Regions from separate parts of the Homo sapiens genome. Here region 1 is linked to region 2. The links are contacts of gene promoters, found by promoter capture Hi-C in blood cells and fetal thymus (Javierre and others, 2016). All regions are on one chromosome and are shown on one strand. Each heading gives the region's core, a stretch centred on a gene start or on the middle of the fragment in contact. The rest is flanking DNA. Distances are from core to core; before and after follow the strand shown. Region 1 overlaps COPS8 (COP9 signalosome subunit 8). Region 2 holds the start of PRLH (prolactin releasing hormone).

Evidence for each region. Contacts are between HindIII fragments. The CHiCAGO score rates a contact against its expected background, and 5 or more counts as called.
Region 1: a contact is called between a fragment that was not itself captured here and the fragment with the promoter of PRLH in region 2, in 1 of 17 cell types (endothelial precursors). The highest score is 6.6, in endothelial precursors.

The regions. Positions count from the first base shown.
Region 1 is chr2:237,093,230-237,099,667 of GRCh38, forward strand. COPS8 (COP9 signalosome subunit 8) reads left to right here. Exons shown (of 8, transcript NM_006710.5): 5 at 861-968; 6 at 2,593-2,655; 7 at 3,593-3,640; 8 at 4,434-6,438. The coding sequence ends at 4,513. Among named protein-coding and RNA genes, the nearest start is that of COPS8, 11 kb to the left of the region's middle. The HindIII fragment of the contact is 1,129 bases long and covers 3,251-4,379 here.
Region 2 is chr2:237,560,348-237,567,839 of GRCh38, forward strand. PRLH (prolactin releasing hormone) reads left to right here and starts at 6,227. Exons shown (of 2, transcript NM_015893.1): 1 at 6,227-6,326; 2 at 6,665-6,828. The coding sequence starts at 6,227. The coding sequence ends at 6,828. It also overlaps the pseudogene RNU6-1140P. RefSeq lists an enhancer at 3,076-3,576. The HindIII fragment of the contact is 5,293 bases long and covers 2,726-7,492 here.

The DNA.
Region 1 (6,438 bases), core at 2,565-5,064, 470 kb before region 2:
GGAATTGGTGTAGTTTGACAATGTCCCAGGAATGGAGAGAAGATTTTAAATATGTTAGGGTGTTTGTTTTACATATGTACACTGGCCTATTAAATATGGAAAGTAAAATCCAGAATATTTCCTAAGCATGTTGACCACCAGGTGGAGGAGCTCTTGCATTACCAATGAGCAATGCCCAGGGAGAAAGGCCAGCTGGTTTCACAGTGCTCAACTCTACCGTACTCCTGAGTTTATTTAATTGGGTATGGAAGCCTGGGGACAATCCTAAATGCCACTTTCAGGAAAGTTTTCGTTGCTGGTATTGTTTGGCAGTCCCTTCTTAGAGTCATTCTTTCAAGGTGGGAATTTAGGATTTTGAACCTTAATTCAGTCAAGAGTTTGATGCAGACTTGGAAGAATGCTCCAGTTACAAGATTTGTTCTGTAACTCCCAGGTGTGGTCCTGTATTAGAGACGTTTTTGAAAAGGACAGCTGATTACGCAAATCAGTTTTCTGCTCCTTTGATTCCAGCATTTGTAAATGAAATAAGATAAGTAAAATTTATATCCCCATTGCATAAACATACTGCATTTTCTTAGGGTTAGAGCCTTGTGTTTAGTAACCTTTTTCCATCTTTGTAATTTTCATTATCTGAGATTTTTCATCCAAGAGGAAGTGTAAGAAATGTATTTTTTTCCAGCAATATTTGAACCCCCCGTACATACTGGGCATATGTATTTGTATCTATAAGCACAGAAATCTTTGGGTTCATCTGGCCTTGCTTATGAAAACTAGACAAGGACAGTGGTGTGATTTAACAATGTGCTTTGAAAATGCTGCTCCCTGGTTCACTCTCTGCCAACCCACCACTCCCACAATAGATGCAACAAGGAGACGCGCCTTTGCCCTGGTCTCTCAAGCGTATACTTCAATCATCGCCGATGATTTTGCAGCCTTTGTTGGACTTCCTGTAGAAGAGGCTGTGAAAGGTAATTTTGGCTTACTTTTTACTTATAAGGAAAATGGAAAATAGAAGTGTGAATTGTAGGTTCACAGTCTCCTCTGAAACACTTGGAACAGAATATGCTTTTGGAGTCCAGGCTGTGTTTTTTGAGAGGTGATATGAAACAGGTGTTGTGGAACACCCAGCAGGCACCCTGCAGTCAAGCATATTAATAGTTCTATAGCAAGCAAATGTGTGAGTATCCACACAGTTGGTTACAAAAATATGTCTTAATTGGTCTCTTTACTCATATTTGGAAATCCTTATTTCACCCTTATTTGATAAAGGCAGCATCATCCCCACGTCCCTTTTCATTTTCCCTGCCATTTCTGACCCATACCCTAGGCGCTTGCTTGCTCCCCACTCATACCTGCTGGTCTCTCCAAATGTAACTTTGCATTTTCATTTCTCAGCTGATGCCCAGACTAATCCTTCCTGTTGCTCGTTGTTATAGAATACTGTATACACCTGGCCAGGTGCAGTGGCTCACACCTGTAATCCCAGCACTTTGGGAGGCCGAGGCGGGTGGATCATGATGAGGTCAGGAGTTCGAGACCAGCCTGGCCAACATGGTGAAAGCCCGTCTCTACTAAAAATACAAAAAATTAGCCAGGTGTGGTGGCAGGCACCTGTAATCCCAACTACTCAGGAGGCTGAGGCAGGAGAATCGCATGAATCCAGGAGGTGGAGGTTGCAGTGAGCTGAGACTGTGCCACTGCACTCTAGCCTGGGCAACACAGTGAGATTCCATATCAAAAATATATATATATATCGTATACACCTTGTTGCATTGTTTTGCCATGATTGACATTTTTGATTCTCCAGCTAAAATATGAGCACCATCACGCACTACATCCTAAATTTCCAGGGCCTAGCATAGTTGTAGATACATGAAGATAGGTTAATGAAAGTTCTAAGTTATTACTTTTATTTACTCATACAAACATTTATTTCTTTTGGCTCTTAAAATTGGTCCATCATTTATTTTCTATATATAACATACTTCAGAGCTCGTATTCTCAGCTGACCACCTGGATGTGAATGCTGGTACCACCCGTCCCTGATGCTAGTGGCTATGTGACTTAGGACAAATCACTTGAATTTCCCTCAACTTTATTTTCCATACCTGTCAAACGATGGCCCTATATCCCACTTCATAGAGTTGTGGTGATTACATAAAATCATCCCTATAAAAGCACGTAGTCTGGTACCTACAGGTAAACCTTCCATATATGGAAGCTGTTTTTATTATTGCCATCTTTGTTATTACTGATATGATGGTCACAAAAGGCGCCATATCAGTTTTCCTTCTGTTTGTTTTAAATAATACTGATTAGGTTAATACTATAATATATTCTTGACAGAAAACTAACCATCTTTTAATGATTATAGCAACCTAATAGAGTAAAATGAGGCTTTGATACCTGTTTCAGAAATATTTCAATAATAAGTTTCCATGCTCTTTGTAATATACCTTTCTAGTAAAAATGCATATGACGGGTTATACTAAACACATCAGGTCTTCTGTACAACTAATGTCATGGACAAGTTGTGGATTTTGTGGGGTGTTTTATTCTTTCCGGATCTTTATGTGTAATATACTTTTTTAGGCATATTAGAACAAGGATGGCAAGCTGATTCCACCACAAGAATGGTTCTGCCCAGAAAGCCAGGTAGGTGGAGCTTTCACCCATTTACGCAGCACTGGACTCTTCTAAGACTGCTTCAGGTTTTCAGTCTTTGGTTTTTGATAATTGGATGTAAAATTCGGCTATACTAACACAATGGAAATAACTCATTTTAAATAAAGCGTAGTAGACGGGGTAGAAAGGATCACCTAGTTTAAACTCTTAAAAATGTATTTCCTGTATATAAATGATTTTACGTAGGTTTTTCATGGTCCTTACACCTTAGTTTTTACTAAATATTAATCTCCATCCTTTTATGGAGCCATTTGTAACTGAGCTTATCCTTCATATCCAAGCTGTTGTCTGTATTAAAAAAAAATGTTTAAATATTCAACTGCCCCCCTTTTCTGTTTGCACTCAAGTCATACAGGCACTTTTCCTGTGGCTTCCACTTTCACAGAGTTAACTTCTCTAGCCCTCCTTTTAAGGCCTTAATTTCTATGACCTGCCCTCATTGTCTTTATCTGAATTCCCAGCCCCTCAGTCTTCCTGTTGGAAGTGAGCCACACTCATTCCCGCCTGATAGTTTCTCTTCCTCCTGCTGACCAGGAGTGTCTTTTCTGCCAGGTCTTTAGAGCCAAGCTTAATGCCCACTTCCATAAACCCGCCTTCATCCACGTCAGCCCAAATTTCCTTCCACCTACTCGGAATGCCTATGTTTAGACATTGCTGAACATACAGTAAAGGATTCTCAATGTGCTCAGCCCTTTGAGTTACAAAGAGTGAGAAGACATGATCCCAGTCAAGTGAGATAGTGGGGGAAGAGTAATATAATAAAGAATTATAATGGAGCACAGTTGTTATCCCTGTTTGAGAAATAAATGGCCGTTAAATGCATGTTGTGCTGAAAATAGCATGTTCTATGAAAGATCTTTACAATGACTTCTGTAAATTGAGCTGTACATTTTTTTTTTGAATTTAGTTGCAGGGGCCCTGGATGTTTCCTTTAACAAGTTTATTCCCTTATCAGGTATGTATTTTCATATGCACATTTTTTAATGTCTCATTGTTCCTAATTTCTTTTTTGTAGTATATATGTATATGTGTGTGTGAGTGTGTGTATCTATTTCTTACCTTGTAAACAGAGGTTAAATTTCATAAATGCGTAGTAATACATCTGGTTACAAGAGTGAAACTGGGCTCCCCCAGAGCTTGCCTTGAGGCGGTGCCCTCCTCTGGGCCAGCTGCAGAGCCTTCTTATTCTCATGTCAGGGAGGCCTGCCAGAGCTGTTCACCAGTACTGTTATTCAGAAGGCGTCCCCAGGCTGACGTGTAGTAATTTAAATGTTGGAATGTAAATTCCTTGAGGTTCTTTGTGGGTTTTCTTTTTTTTTTTTTTTTTTTTGGTTTGTTGACAATTTAATATTCTTCAGTGATGTCTGGGGCATGGGAAGCACTCTATTTCTTGAATTTAATGTTGCATGGGTAAGGATGTTTTCAAGAAGAGCTGTGATCTTTTAAAAGACATGTTGCATGATAAAAGTGTCTTTAACCTTTACATAGAATACTTCAGTAACAACAACATGAGACATGCCTTTACTAGCAGTTAGGTAAAACCATACTCATAAAAGTTGCAACTTCTTGGCTTGCTTTTCAAAAATGTCCAAGCCTCTATGATGTAAGATTTTGTCTAAAACCAGGACAAATCTAAGAAAGTTAACTTACTGTTAAAAATTGAAGGCATTAGGGGAGGTAGGTGTTGGGGCCAAAGCTTTGTTACTGTGGTATGTAACATGAAGTGTGTTTGTTTCTTTAACATACAGAGCCTGCTCCAGTTCCCCCAATACCCAATGAACAGCAGTTAGCCAGACTGACGGATTATGTGGCTTTCCTTGAAAACTGATTTATCACTCTGAGTTCAAGATTCATCTTCAGAATCCTGTATACTGACAAACGTAGAAATGTAAAGTTTGTATTTTCAATTTATTGGATGGCTTAAGCACCTCAGCATTCCTTACTATGTGATAAAATACATATAGAATATAAGATATACTATATACATTTTGTCCATAAACGTTATGCTGAATAGTTGTTGAAACAGTTCTCATTTTGTAGTATTTAATAATCTGGATGGAGCCTGTCAGTATTACAGTTAGTTTTCTAGTGACTCATAAAATAAGATTTCCTGTTTCATGTAGAATAGTGTTTGTCAACTGTCTTTTCTCTGTCCCAGCACATGCCGTACTCTTATATGTACCATTGGTTGATAATTATAATGATTCATTTGGACTTGAAGAAAGATTGTCCCCAGGCACAGTATCTGAATCACTGGGGATTATGATTCACCCTCTTTGGAGAACATGCTCTCTTTTCACCCCCCACCTCCTGAGAGCCACTAATGTAAGATACAGAAACATAGCTGAGGAACAAATAGACCATTTCCATACTAAACCAGTTTGTTAACTTTAGATTTTTTCCAATAGTGTGAGTATATCCATTGCTGGCAGTGGAGGGCTTGCCATGAAAATGCAACTTATTTAAGACATTTATGAGACATATTAACTTGTGCTGTCGCCTTTTAGAAGGAGAAACTTAAGTGTGGAATGCATTATATGGGCAAAGAAGCTATGAAGATACATGATACACTTTGTACAACTATCCTGCAGCCCATTGGTTGCTTATATTTATCGCTTGGCTCAAGTTCTGCCCTTTGGAGAAATACTGAGCAAGTCTTTCATTCTCTGTGTGACAGCCCTCTGAATATTTGAAGTTGTTTGTTGTAACTTAAGGTTATAACAGCCCTTAGTTCATTTACTCTGCATTTGTTCAATAAATATTTAACTGAATTCTTCAATTATTTCATCTAAGATAGTTTCTGGAAATTTCACTCTCGATCTTTCTGTGGACACAATCTATTTTGTCATTGTGTCTATATGAATCTCTTAAGTAGAAATGAGTTGTATGGTGAATCTGTGTAGTGATAATTATATAATTTATTTATTTTGAATGCATTTTAGTGGCTATTTCAGTTTTTCTTAACATATATGGGAATACTTTTTGAATTGCAATTTTATTTAACCCGGATAGGTAAGTCATATTAAAATTCCTTGTTTTACAGTTGAGGAAATGGGAATTCAAGAAGTCAGAGGATCAGGAGAGTGATCAAGAGAATGACAGTGCCAGTTTTTTTAACTTCCAGGTATTAAGTACAAATTGTATCCATGGTTATTTTTTAAAAGCAGATTAGAGTCAATCCAAATATTCATTAATAGGGGATTGTTTGAATAAACAGCAGTGTAGACTACGCAGGTGTAAAAGGAGTGAAGATCTCTATACTAAACTGGAATGATCTCCAGAGTGAGAACATAGAAAGCACATGTAGTTTATATGGTTATTTTGAGGGTAACAAAAGGAGAATGATTACAATTATATATATGTACATATTTCCTTATATTTCAAAACTAAGCAATTGGGGGATATATACAAAATGAATATAATAGTTCCCTAAAGAGGAAGGAGAGGACAGTGAACTACTACATAGAGAAAAAATAATCTCAAGTGATCAAACACAATATTTCAATTTTACATTGTCAGTGGGATATACACTAAGGACAGAAAAAAATCTTAGACTAATGAATGTGGTTTTTCATGATTAATTTCACAAAATCTTGATATCTTTTTTATTATTAAAAGTATAGATTAAATTAATAATCATGTAACATTAGACCCCAGTAATCTTAAATTTGACATGGAAACCTCATTATATGCTTTATTTTTCTTTGTAAACAGTAAATATTTCCCACTCCTGTCTACATGAAAAGGTCTAGA
Region 2 (7,492 bases), core at 4,977-7,476:
AAGCAATTTTCCCACCTCAGCCTCCCAAAAGTGTGCTTGTACTACAGATGTGAACCACTAAGCACAGCCTAAAAGATCTATTCTAAATAAAGTATTCATGAAACAAATCCCAGAATCTATTAGAAAACCTATTGTATCTTACCAAGGTAAGGTTCATCCCAAGAAAGCCAGGAATTCTTTAATGTTAGAAAAAAATATATATTCTTGCGGTCCACTGTGTTAACAGAGTGAATGAGAAAACCACTGTGATCACTTCATTCAATGAAGAAAGGCACAGAAGAATAAATCAGTAGCTGGCCGGGCACGATGGCTCACGCCTGTTATCCCAGCACCTTGGGAGGCCAAGGTGGGTGGACCATTTGAGGTCAGGAGTTGGAGACCAGCCTGGCCAACATGATGAAACCCCGTCTCTACTAAAAATACAAAAATTAGCCAGGCGTGGTGGTGGATGCCTGTAGTCCCAGCTACTCGGGAGGCTGAGACAGGAGAATCGCTTGAACCTGGGAAGTGGAGGTTGCAGTGAGCCGAGATCGCGCCACTGCACTCCAGCCTGGGTGACAGAGCGAGACTCTGTCTCAAAAAAATAAAATAAAATAATAAATAAATAAGTATCTTAGAAAATTAGGACTGGAAGGCGTGGCAGTCAGCATCTTTGCTGTCATTATACCCGTGGCCTCCAGGAGGGTAGCATGGCAGGCAGTCATACTTTCCCCAGGGAGGGGACTTTCCTGCACAGGTTCTAGTTTGTATGTGCCACAACTCAAGTGGCCACATCACATTCTGGATGAAATACTGACCAACAGAAGCTGGACCAAGAGTGCTTGGCTCTGCCTTTCCTGAGGCCCATGACGCAGTTAAATAGGGGATGGGGAGAAGCTCCCTGACTGCCTGTGGTCAAAACCCATCTGTGGGATTCATTTCTCTAAAAACACTGAAGCCATGTGCATCCTGAAAGCCCCAGGCCAGGCCTGCAGTTCTGTGACATTCTTGCAAGAACAGCCCACACCTCACTCGCCATCACAGCATCTCCGGCCAGCCACAGTGCCTCTCAGCGGTTCTGAGGTCTCTGATGGACACCATCGCCTTCTTCGTGGGGGTGGGGTAAGCAGGATTGATGCCTGTGCTACTGCCCAGCCCGCCTGCTGCCTCCCACTGGTGGACTCCCAAAGTGGCAAGATGCCAGTGCCACACTGTGACAGCGCTGCTTTACACACACACACACACACACTCCAGTGGTGGATGCCCAGAAAGCTGCCCCCAGGTCCTGGGGTCTCAGTTTCTGCTGCTACAGGCAGGCCTAGCACTGGACAGAAAACACACCTCCAAGATGGTGATACTTAACCACCACTATCACCACTACAGGTCAAGTTCCCTTATCCAAAGTACTTGGGACCAGAACTGTTTTGGATTTTAAGGGTTTTTGGGGGGAGGATTTTGAAATATTTGCACTATACTCATGAGTAGAACATCCCAAATTTAAAATCCAAAATGCTTCAATGAACATTTCCTTTGAGAATCAACTCAGCACTCAAAAAGTTTCCGATTTGGGGTTTTTGGATTTGGGATACTCAACCTACATTTGTAAAAACTATGGGTAAAAACTATGGATGGGGAGCTTTTCGCCATCACTGATGCCTGAGCTACCCCCACAAATTCTGATGGAATTCATTCCAGGTACAGCCCAGGCATTAGGAGGTTTTTAAGGCTCCCAAGTGACTCTAATCAGCAGCCCAAGCTGGGAGCTGCGAACCCCACCCCATCACCCTTCCCGTGCTGCTTACCCTACTTCCCGCCTCCAGCTACCCCTGGGCTCCAGAGCTCCCAGGGAGCCCACCAGCCACAAACCTGTGTCACTGGGAAAAACAACTACGCAGCAAGGAAGAAGCCACTGTGTCCTGTTCCCTGAAGGGGAAAGTATTGCCCAGAAGCTTTTCCTAAAGGATGGAAGTGGCACATTGACCATCTGCGCCAATCCATGGGAAGCACGTGCCAAGTTTCCCCTCCAGAAATTTTCCTTAAAAAGATTGTACTCAACTGCATATAAGTGGTCATGAGTATAACCTATAATTATTCAGAACATGAATGATTTAGATCCACCTTAAATGGTAGAACATTGCACAGTTACTTAAAATGGCACAAACTTGCAGATTTTTTAGCAACTTGAGGATGTGATTGTTACAGTGTTAAGTGAAAAGAATGAAATTCAACATGTATAAATGTGATCAATCTACCCAGAAAATATGTCGGAAGCTCACTAGAAGAAAATGCATCAAATGTAGACGCGAGAGGCTTTCTTTTTTTTTTTTTTTTTTCTTTGAGACAGAGTATCGCTCTGTCGCCCAGGCTGGAGTTCAGTGGCAGGATCCCAGCTCACTGCAACTTCCACCTCCAGGGGGTTCAAGTGATTCTGCTGCCTCAGCCTCCTGAGTAGCTGGGATTACAGGCGTGCGCCACCATGCCCAGCTAATTTTTGTATTTTTAGTAGAGACAGGGTTTCACCATGTTGGTTAGGCTGCTCTCGAAGTCCTGACCTCATGATCCACCCGCCTCGGCCTTCCAATGTGCTGGGATTACAGGCATGAGCCACCACACCTGGCCACGAGCAGCTTCTTTAACATGATCAGTGCTATTTTTTCTATTTTGTTGTATGCACTAATATTTTTCCAAATGTATATGAACTGCTTTAATAATAAAAATGTATTTGTTTCTTTTATAATAAAAAATAAGCTTGTCTTATGAGAATAATAAACTTGTTTATGTTAAACATTAATTATAAAGACTGTAAAAGTCTAGAAACCACCTGTTGTAAGTTATAGAGTGCTTGCTTCTGCAGCACATATACTAAAATTGGACCGATACAGAGAAGATTAGCATGGCCCCTGCGCGGAAGTTACAGAATGAGGAAGACATGGTGTGCACACGACAAATGCAGGTAGGACAGTCAGGCAGGTGAATGAACGAGGACCGAGAAGATCGCAAAGATACAAAGCCGCAGTGCTGGGCTTTGGTGACTGTCCCTGCTCACCTTTCCCTTGAATGTGAATGCGGTGATTTAAAGGCAGGGAGAGAGGACTGGAAGGAGTCCGGGAGCCCCATCTGTGAGGCCCAGCGGACACTTGACACTGCAGTCTGCCCGAAGGCGAGCACGAAGAAGAGAAGCTAATGTGTTTTAAAACCACTTGGTCCAAATGAAATTATATAACCCAGGAAGGAACAAATCGCATCGCTGATGAGTTTTGTTTTGTGTTTTTTTTTTTCAATAAAGGAACGAGAAGAGACACAGGCTCGCTCCTGATGCCGCCCTGTGAGGGAGACAGGCTGGCTTGGGGGAGGGCACCTGGGGGTGCCGGCTTCGTCCTCTCGGGGGCTATAAAAGGGGAACAGAGGCTCCCGCCTCCTCGGCTCCACTGCACCCGTAGCCAGGACAGCTCCTCTACCACACTCGAGAACGGTGAGTTGCACATCCAGGCGCTGGAGCTTGGGCCCTCTGCTTTGCTACTTTGTAAAATCTTCCCTTGCTGTCTGAGTGTGGGTCGGGTTGAGACCCTGCCTGCTCTCCTGGCAGCTGAGGCTAGGCCTAAGCAGGAGAGGCAGAGACGGCTGGCCCCTGGGTTCTTGCATCCAAAGCCACCCTGCCCTCCCAGGGCACCAAGGCTCCGGCGCTGTCCATGGTGGAGACTCCAGACAAAGACGTCCCATTCAACTCCGCTGACCAGGAAATCCCACGGGGCAGCCGGCCAAAGTCTCCACCTCTCAGGGAGGCAGGTCTTTGGGGATCAGGAGCCAAGTGAGCATCGTTAGCATTCTCGGACACCCCTCAGGTGGCGTGGGTCCCGTGCCAGAGGAAATGCAAACGGCCAGCCTGCTGGGATGAATCTCTTTATCACTCTTCAAGGTGGCACCTCCATTTCCTCTAGACTGGGGAACCCCCCACCCCACCTAGCATGGGACGCCCCTCCAGGTCTCTAAAAAGGAAAGGTGTAGGCATTTTAAATTGTTCTGATGGAGAGCACTTTCTGTGGGGCTCAGGGAGGGGCTGGAAAGTCAAGGTCGGCAGGGGGATCCTTCCCAGAGCAAGATGGAGCTGTCGGGCATCTTCCCATGGCACCCAAAGTGCCACAGGTGGAGGAAGGAGGAGGGGTGCCTGCAGCAGGTGTTTCCAGGTCTCCCATGATGGATGCTGTTTAGGCATTTCAGCACCTCCACTCCAGTGGGGTGGAAGGGGCTTTCCATGCACCTGGTGTCATCCACGGCAGCCCCCTCCTCCCATCACCGATAGGAAGTGGCCCTGCCTTGTGAGAAGAGGTCCCAGATGCTACAGGCTTACCTTGGAGCCTCAGAAGACTGGATCTAGCGTCATGGCAAGGGTGAGTGGGCTTACTTAGGGCAGAGGATGCAGACTCATTCTACGACACGCAGCTGTCGGCTGACATTCCCCAGCAGGGCTGGGCTGGCAGGCTGGAACCAGGCATTAGGAGGCGCTGAGATGAATGTGGGAAGGGGCCGTGCACCGGATTCCAGCCCCTGAGCCTGGTCCAGGCTTGGCACTCCCCAGCTCCCCAACCATGTCTGAGGTTGAGCAAGGGGCTGCCTCCACCTGTGCAGCTCCCTGGGCACCTCCCCACAAACCTGCTGTCCTGGGTGTGCAACATGCACAGCCGTGCAGAGGCCTGCTGCACCTTCTGATCCCTTAACACAGGCGGACAGACGGACCCAAGGCTGTTCCATGACAGCCCCCCTTTATAACGCGTAGCTCACACCTCCTGAGGGCTTTCTGATCATGAGCATCAATGTACATGTGACCGATCCCGTTAGAGGCTGACGCGCACAGAAGCATCTCACTTAACACCTCATTGCGCAGAGGAGAGAATGGGGTCACAGGCGGGTGGGGGACCATGCAGAGAGCCAGGTTTAACTGCTGTTTCTGTGCTTATTCCCACCTCAGCACAGATCAGAGGAACACGTGGAGATCTATGTGGCTATGTGCACGCGCACATCTACACACATACATACACATCTACACACTCACACACATCTACACACATACATACACTCACACACAACTACACACACATCTACACACATACACACACATCTACACTCATACACATCTACACACACTCACACACATCTACACACGTACACACACACATCTACACACACATCTACACACATACACATCTACACACATACATACACACATCTACACACATACACTCACACACCTACACTCATACACACATACACTCACACACACATCTACACATGTACACTCACACACCTACACACATACACATCTACACACACTCACACACACATCGACACACACACATCTACACACATATCTACACACATACACACATCTACACACATACACACACACACAGCTACACACACATCTACACATACACACACATCTACACACATACTCACACAACTACACACACATCCACACACATACATACACTCACACACAACTACACACACCTACACATACACACATCTACACACACACATCTACACACATACACACAAACCTACACACATACACACATCTACACACAGACACATCTGCACACATACACACGCATCTACCCAATACACACAGACACACTACACACATACACACACATCTACACACACACACATCTGCACACATACACACATCACACACTCACACACATCTGCACACATACACACACATCTACACACATACACACAAACCTACACACATACACACATCTACACACAGACACATCTGCACACATACACACGCATCTACACAATACACACAGACACATCTACACACATACACACACATCTACACACATACACACATCTGCACACATACACACATCTACACACATACACTCACACACATCTGCACACATACACACACATCTACACACATACACACACACCTGCACACATACACACATCTACACACATACACACACATATCTGCACACATACACACACACAGGCACCCATGTGCACACACCACACCCTCTTGTACACATATACATACACAGCTGTGCACTCACATGCACACAGGCTCATGCACATACTTCTCTCTCACACACAGTGCTCACTCTACCCAAGGTCCCAGCTCCGTGCACACGCACCCTGATGCCTGTGTGACGCTGCTCCTGCCCCTTCTCCCCCAGGCCGTGTCCTCCTCATTTGGATCTCCCCTCCAGCGGGGCCTCCTCGGAGGAGCCAAGGGATGAAGGTGCTGAGGGCCTGGCTCCTGTGCCTGCTGATGCTGGGCCTGGCCCTGCGGGGAGCTGCAAGTCGTACCCATCGGCACTCCATGGAGATCCGCAGTGAGTGCCTGGACCCCTGTCAGCCTCCCTTACCCCACCCTGCCTCACCCCAGAACCTAGTGCAGCCTGGTCGCTCGAGAACCTGGCAGGAACGGGGTGCGCGGGAGGAAAGGGAAGTCAGTCTTGGTGCTTTTTTGAACTCCTGCTTCCCAAAGCCAGCCCACGCCCAGAAATGGCCTCGCCAGAACCTCTGGGTGCCTGTTCCTCGGGTGGCTCCCAGCATGGCCTGGCGACTGGGCTGAGAGGCCCTGCCTGTGCACTCTGCCCCGCTGCCTCTGGGAGCACAGCACACCCTGGGGACACGTGCCCATGGTCTGCTCCAGCTCTTTCCTTTCCAGCCCCTGACATCAATCCTGCCTGGTACGCCAGTCGCGGGATCAGGCCTGTGGGCCGCTTCGGTCGGAGGAGGGCAACCCTGGGGGACGTCCCCAAGCCTGGCCTGCGACCCCGGCTGACCTGCTTCCCCCTGGAAGGCGGTGCTATGTCGTCCCAGGATGGCTGACAGCCAGCTTGTCAAGAAACTCACTCTGGAGCCTCCCCCACCCCACCCTCTCCTCTCCTTCGGGCTCCTTTCCCTTCAATCCTAATAAAAGCTCTGGTCTTCAGTTACACATTCACGACTGTGTGGTGGTGACTCTGAAGTTGTTCCCTCCTGGGACATTAGACTAGAAAGAACCTCAGAGCCCAGCAACTTCTTTGGAAGAAAAGGCTTTGTGACTTGGCAGAGGGCACTTGGCACTGAGTTGGGGCGCTGGGTCTACCCTTGGTCACCGGCAGCCCACAGCCACCCCCACACCCAAGCTGCCCTGAGTGGCTGCCCAGGCTGTCCACTGCAGAAGGCCAGGAGGTGCCACGCGTCATACTCTGCAGGACACTGTCCCCATAGGACGGTAGCACAGCCCCCAGCCTGAGCCCTGGGCAGCCCCTCAACTTCAGTCCTTTTTATTTAGACTATTTTTCAGAGCAGCTTTAGGTTCACAGCAAAATTGAGTAGAAGGTACAGAAAGTTCCCATCCACCCCCTTCCCCCACATCCGCACAGCCTCCCCCATGATCAACACCCCCACCGAGGGTGCTTTTGTCCCAGTCGAGGAACCCACACTGACACATCCCCATCCCCAACCAGCGTATGTCAGAGCCCACTCTCCACGCTGTGCGTCCTGTGGG